Regions from separate parts of the Homo sapiens genome. Here region 2 is linked to region 1. The links are contacts of gene promoters, found by promoter capture Hi-C in blood cells and fetal thymus (Javierre and others, 2016). All regions are on one chromosome and are shown on one strand. The core of a region is centred on a gene start or on the middle of the fragment in contact, and the rest is flanking DNA. Distances in the headings are between cores, read along the strand shown.

The links. The method cuts DNA at HindIII sites, captures the fragments that hold promoters and counts their contacts. A CHiCAGO score of 5 or more calls a contact.
Region 2: a contact is called between a fragment that was not itself captured here and the fragment with the promoter of EGFR in region 1, in 1 of 17 cell types (endothelial precursors). The highest score is 6.1, in endothelial precursors.

The regions. Positions count from the first base shown.
Region 1 is chr7:55,016,928-55,020,379 of GRCh38, reverse strand. EGFR (epidermal growth factor receptor) reads right to left here and starts at 1,363. Exons shown (of 28, transcript NM_005228.5): 1 at 1,015-1,363. The coding sequence starts at 1,102. LOC105375284 (a long non-coding RNA gene) reads left to right here and starts at 1,458. Exons shown (of 4, transcript XR_007060329.1): 1 at 1,458-3,452. RefSeq lists an enhancer at 1-363. The HindIII fragment of the contact is 3,906 bases long and covers 1-2,219 here.
Region 2 is chr7:55,135,148-55,138,630 of GRCh38, reverse strand. All of the region lies in intron 1 of EGFR (epidermal growth factor receptor), which reads right to left. Among named protein-coding and RNA genes, the nearest start is that of EGFR-AS1, 52 kb to the left of the region's middle. The HindIII fragment of the contact is 3,536 bases long and covers 1-3,472 here.

The sequences.
Region 1 (3,452 bases), core at 114-2,613:
CCTGCAGTGGCCGGACAGCCGCGTCCCGCTCCACCGCGAAGCCCAGGCGCGACCGAAGGGCTGCAGGTGGAGCAGACCCGGACGTCTCCGCGAGGCGGCCATCGAAGGAGAGCCTGGGGCTTTCGGCGCGGGCGCCCAGGAGGGAGCTGGGGTCCCCGGGAGGTGGGGGGCACTCTTGGATAGGCAAGACGAGGGCGCACCGGGCGAGGCGAGCGGCCGGGGTCTGCGCCCAAGGGGCGGGTCGGACCCCACCTGCCTTTTGCCAACGAGGAAACTAACCGCCGCCAGCACCACCCCTCCCCGGGAGCCGCAGGTGGTGGTAGACGAGTTCTCCCAGCTCCCAGGTCGAGGCTGCGACTCCACACTGGGGAACGAGGATCGCGGGGACCTGGAGAGGGGCCGGGGCCAGGCTGGCGGGCGCCGGCTTCAGTTTGAGACCTGCGCGGAGGGCGGAGGCGGGGAGGTCCTCTCAGAAAGCCGCCTGTCCCGCGGGGTCCGAGGGGAGGCTGTATTTTTGGGTTCCTTCCTCAGCTTCCCTAAACAGTGCAGTCTCGGCGGGTGGGCAGCGCCCGCCCCTCGGGTGCGCGCCAGGACCCCGTCGCGCCCTGGGAAGACAGCGCGGGGCGCACGTGCGGGACCCCGGCCCCAGGCGCCCACCAGCACCCGGCTTTCGCCCACTGACGCCGATCCTGCGCAGCTGGGCGGGGAAAGTGAGGGAAGAAAGTTGGGAGCGGTTCGGGGCGCCGGAGGTCCCGGCGGCCGTTCCCCGCCTGGCCTGCAGCCCGGTGTCCCACGCGTCTCCTCCTCCGCCCGCCCCAGACTCTCCCGGCCGAAGAACGAAACGTCCCGTTCCTCCCGCGGTCCCGGTCGGCGGCGCAGCTGATCTCAAGGAAACAGGAAAGGACGGGCGGGGGCGCGGGCGCCGAGCCGGTGCGCCGGTGCGCGGTTGGGCGGGCTGCGGGGTCCGGGGCGCGATCCGGGGGCGGCGCGGGAGCCGGCGAGACACGCCCTTACCTTTCTTTTCCTCCAGAGCCCGACTCGCCGGGCAGAGCGCAGCCAGCAGCGCCAGGAGCGCTGCCCCGGCCGTCCCGGAGGGTCGCATCGCTGCTCCCCGAAGAGCTCGCTCCGGCTCTCCCGATCAATACTGGACGGAGTCAGGGGGCCGTGCGCGGTGGTTGTGGCGTTGGCGGCGAGGCGGGGACTCGGGCGGACGCCGACGAGGTGGCCTGTCGTCCGGTCTGGGCGGCGGCGGCCGCCGGGGCTAGCTCGGGACTCCGGCCGCCTCGGCCGCGTCGGGCGCTCACACCGTGCGGGGGGCGGAGGCTGCTGCGGCCGCGCTGCGCCGGGGGCTGCCCGGACGTCTAGCTCGCGCGGGCCGAGGCGCGGGGAGGCAGGGCGGGAGGAGGAGGGACCAGGCGGCGGAGGAGGGATCGGGAGGAGCAGAGGAGGAGGAGAATGCGAGGAGGAGGGAGGAGAACCAGCAGCGGGGACCCAAGGCCAGCGGCCGCCGGAGGCGGTGGACAGCGGTGGCCCCCGCGGGACCTAGTCTCCGGCGGGAGTGGGGCGGCGCATGGGAGGGGAGCGGGTGCCCTGAGGAGTTAATTTCCGAGAGGGGCGTTCCCAGCACTGCCCCTCTGGACCCGGTCCCCGCGGACTTGCAGGCCCAGCCTATGTCCAGGTCGAGCCAAATCTGTGCCAGGGTCCCCTTCCCCCTTTCCCTTCTTTTGTTTTACAAAGCAAACTTGTACCAGCTTTAGACAGACTGGCCGAGCCTTAGAGCCAGCGTCGGATAATGGCACCGACGGGGAAACTGCTCCTTTATTCGGGTCCCCACCTCCCCTGCAGCACTACGGGACCCTCTCGGGGATCAGAGGCTGGCCTGGCAGCTGAGGAGGTCGCCGTGCCCGCGCGGCAGGGGTGCCAGGCGTCCGAGGTGGTGCTCTAAAGTCCGAGGGTCCTTCAGATCTTGTCAAGCACCCTCGAAATCATCTGAAATGAGGGCACCCAACTCCGGGTGCAGAGACAGGCCTCCTTAATGTTTATTGCAACCAGCCATGGGTACTTTGAAGCCAATGTGTGAAGCACATTACTTCGCAAAAGTGAAGCTCTTGGAATAAAGGCTTGACACAAACAGCCGTGGAGGTGCTTTTAGAGAGGCTAAGTGTCCCACTGCCCCTGTAGCTCCCGCAGGAGAAATGCCAGGGAAACTCGCGGAAGCTTTGGCCAAAAGAAACTGAGCTTTTTTGGGCTGCAGGAACTTGAGCTATATTCCTTTGGCAAGTCCACCCCATCCCCACTGTTCCTTCTCCTGCAGTAAAAATGTCCTCTAGGTCCATGTTACAGCCAGACCCCTCCTCTCTTCACGAGATTCACTAGGACCTTCAGGCCTGGTTCAACAACCCTGATCTCTCGGCTCTGTCAAAAATCACAATCCTGAAGTAAGTGAAGCTACAGACCTGCCCTTTGCTGTCTCTGAAGGGGAGCAACCTTACATCTTTCCTCCTCATCCAGCAAAATGTTTGTGCCTGGGTCTCGCACCCTGCAGCCTGAACGGTGGGGTTTTTCACCAGGGCAAGCGCAGACAGACACAGGTCTGCTCACTGCCCGCACAACCTGGAACTTCCCTGTGAATTAGGAGAAGTAATCTGTTCCTTTGTTTTAACAAATCAGTACAGCCACTGTGCGTTGAAGTCATGCCCTGAATGCAGAGGCCATGAAGGCTCTGCAGGCATGTGTGTGCTTCCTGCACACCTGGGCTGAGAGCAGTCCGTAGAAACACAGAAAACAAAACTAGAGAAAGGCAAATGGGAAGCACAACAGTGGAACATAAAATGAAGACAGGAGTGAGTCTTACAATAAAAGACCTGAATACAATAAAGTCCTGTGCATTCACTTAACAAGGGCTGCAAATTTGGTTTTAAACTATATTTTCTGTCAAGGGAATGTGACCTGTGTGTACAAGTCACAACACAAATCAATTTAAGCTACAACTGATTTGTAAGACTGTACAGGAATTTCTTTGAGTGCCCAAAAAGACAGCATGTAAGAACATCAGTTCTCACTACGTTAGGACTATATGAGACAACAGCCTTCATAGTACGGCTTGTATATTCTTCAATGTGATCTGATAGCATCACAAGAAACAGAGCTTTTTGTAAAGAATTACTAGACACACACATAGCACAATACTGGGATGGATTCCAGGGAACAGAGAAGAATGGGTTTGCTGAACATCTTCATGGGACATCTATGTAAAGTTTGAGTTTCTCCTTTGAGCTTTTGATACAAAAGCTGACATTCACGTTGATTTTGTAGTCCTTGGCTAGTACCTGGAGTGTGCTGATAACTGTGTTACTTGGTAAGTAAAAAACTGTATGGCCGAGCAGGCACTAATGAAGTCCTCTTAAGAGAGATAAGTAGCCTGGCATAGTTAGGGCCCTGCACAGTTAGGG
Region 2 (3,483 bases), core at 455-2,954, 120 kb before region 1:
TGGACCCACGTTAGGGGATGTCAGCCACTCTATATTGTCTTAAGTTATTGTCTAAACTGAGATGTTTGGATCTGCATATGGACTTACTCAAATGTTGGCCATTAAACACAGTTACTTTATAGAATATTTATCAAACCAGAAAAGAAAGAAGAAAGAAAAATGAATACATAGTACTTTAAGGATTACATAAAAATATTTATTTAAGACTAGGTATTTCAGTAGTTGATTCAAAGAAAGAGTTGATATTACTTTAAGTCTATACATTTGAAAACCAGACAATTAAAAGTATTTGCATCAAGTTCCATACAAAATGCTAGTGGTTTGCCTTACCCTTTGCAAATCTGAAGACAAATTCTACTGCATCAAGAGCAGCAGGCCCTATGACTTAGGACTTCAAAGCACTAACTTTTTGTCCTAAAATTTTATTATGATTTATAAATGTATAGAAAAGCTGAAAGAATTGTACCGCAAACATCCTTATGTTAGCATTTTACTACATTCACCTTATCACATATCTATTTTTCTGTCTGTCAGATATGGTCCTCTAGTCTGCCTTTGGATGCATTTTAAAGTAAAGTAGAGATATCACTATACTTCACATTGGTATATCACTAACCAGAGTTCAATATTAGTTTGCAGTCATCATTGTTGTTTTTAAGGTAACATCCACAAACTGTGAGAGGATTAATCTTAAGTGTAGCATTTGATGAGCTTTAACAAATGCACATGCTGGAGTAATCTGAATTCCTGTCATGATCGAAACCCTAACTGTCATCCCTCATGCCCCTCCCAGTCGATCCCTGCCCCCATACACCAGAGGCAACTGCTGTCCTGATCCATTTTCACTACAGAATAGCTTTGCTTGCTTTAGAACATAGATGGACTCACACCACACTGTCCTCTTGAGCAAGCCTTATGTCACAGCACAGTAGTTTTGAGGTTCATCTCTGTTGTTGTGCTCCACTTGGCTGTCAGGGGCAGGTTCAGGAAAGTGGATATACGAAGTTATCTGTGCATTCTTGTTGGACATCTAGGGCGGGCCGGTGGTCTCGTTATTATTTTTCTTGAGAAACTCCTCACTTTATTTTAACTGAAAATAAAAGCAATCTGCCTCCTTTAAGTTTTTAAATGCCTCTGGTTTTGTAGGGTAGGCCCTGTGGCCTTCCTCTGCTATTATGGGGTGTATACCACTCTGCCCACAAGCCTGGGCAAATCTATATTACTTATTAAGACACAGTATTAGAACAAGTTTCTCCAGATTTGCCCAAATCCACTTAGACACTTAGAATCGTCTAAGTAAACTATAATTGTTTTAATTTGTTGTTTTCTTAGCTATGCATTAAAGGCTGCTGAGGTATGAGCTGGGCTGTTGTCAGTCTCTCCCCTTGGCCTCCAAGTTGTCTCTGCTTCCATCCCCAGCCCAGATCTTCGCATCTTTGCTTCCTTTGCATCTTCGAGGTACGCTTAAAGGCCTACCCTCTAGAAAAGCCTGTTCTGCAACTACATTAGCTTAAGTACCCACCATTACATCTGTCACATTATCCTGCATTCTCTGCTCCCTGGCAGTGATCACTACTTATTATTAAGTAGGAATAACTTAATAATAATCATGAAATTATTATTTGCCTATGAATTTGTTATCCATCTTTCCCTACCAGATATACAGATGGTCCTCAACTTTCCATAGGGTTATGTCCTGATAAACCCACCCTAAATTGAAAATAGCAGTCGAAAATGGCATTTTGTAGACATGATAGGATTCAAAAACACAAAACACAATATCCCCAAAATGCTGGTGACACAGTCCACTGTATAGTATCAGCTGTTTAGCCTCTTGATTGCATGGCTGACTGGGAGCTCTGGCTCCCAGCCATTGCCTGGCATCGCAAGAAAGTAACATATCAGACATCAACTAACCCAAGAAAAGATAAAAAATTCAACATTAGAAGTATGGTTTCCATTGAATGTGCATTGCTTTCACACCATCGTAAAGTCAAAAAATCTTAAGTCAAACTGTAGTAAGCTGGGGAGTGTCTGTAAGGATGTGTGTGTGTGTGTGTACACATATGTGTATATATAGATAGCTTATTGGACCTACTGGTATGAAATGCACACACACATGTTGGATTTATATTTTTGTTGTGAAAGCAATGGATGGCCATGTGACCAAAGTCTTGGATGACTTGTCCTGGGTTTCTCTGCCTTTCTCGTTTCCGTGTGCCTGAGGGAGATAGAGGAGGAGGTGGGCTGTATGGGAAGAGTGACAGTCCTTGCCACTTTCTGGTTGGTCATTATAAAATATTTCTAGCTTAGTCATATATTTAATTAGGCTTTAAAGGCCAGAGGAGGATTTTTTTCCCGCTTTCTTGCTGAAAGATTTAAGAAAATCTCAAATAAGATGAATGGATAGTTCATTTATAGGATGAACTTAAAAATATGTAAGGAAAATATAGCGAGTTTGCCAGAGGTTTCATTGAATCAGGACCGGTCATTTCTTTTGCTATACTAAAATCTCAAAGTGAACATGTATACACATCTCAAATGTGCTCAAATGCACGGAAGCATGACAGGAGGAAGATACACCGTGTTGTTAACAATGACCTTTTCTGAATGGTAAATTTCTGGGTGTTTTTCTTATTTACTCTTCATAGTTTTTGTGTTTTTATGTTTTCCATAGTGACCATGTATTACTTTATGCTAAAAAATTACCAAAAATTTAAAAAAATCTGTAAAAAATTTACAAAAATCAGTGTTAAAGAAGGCTAAAGAAGGCTATCTTAAAAAATACATTCCTTAAAAATTGAGAAATAATCATGTACATCTATGAAGACACTCAATTTACCACATAAAAAAATTTTATAAATTGTGACTATAGAACTAGACTAGTCTATGAAATTGATTTAAACCACACAATAGTTTGTAATAATGGAAACTAGAAAACCTATAGTTGTGAGTCATAATGAAATAAGTGGTTAAACCAAAGTAAATACACTTATTTAAATTTTCATTGTGGGTTTAATCAAAACTTTTGTGGGATGGAAAAAGTCATAATTTTGAAGACAACTTTTATTCACAAAGCAAATTTTATGTTTTTTCCTCAGTTGTTCCTTATTTTACCCTATTTTATTCCACAACTAATAAATAGTTCTTAACTGATAGGCATCCAAAGATACCTGTCAAACTGAATGTGAATCTATATTGGAACTTGAAAATACACATGTGATACTCAAAAAGTCCTTTTGAATTTCTGACAATCTTCCATGTACATTATAATATGCCTTCTGGACTAAACATGCCAAGCTGCGGCATGCCCAGCACAGCTGCAAACTCATGTATCTCTAATTAAGTTAACAAGCAGAAGACTTGAAAATAACATCTCTTTATTTTGAGTTAGGGAACAGAATACCCAAACTGGTGGACTTCCAACCCCATGATTCTCCTTCTAGCCATTAAAAGAATCCAAAGCCAAGCTTGTGATTTGTA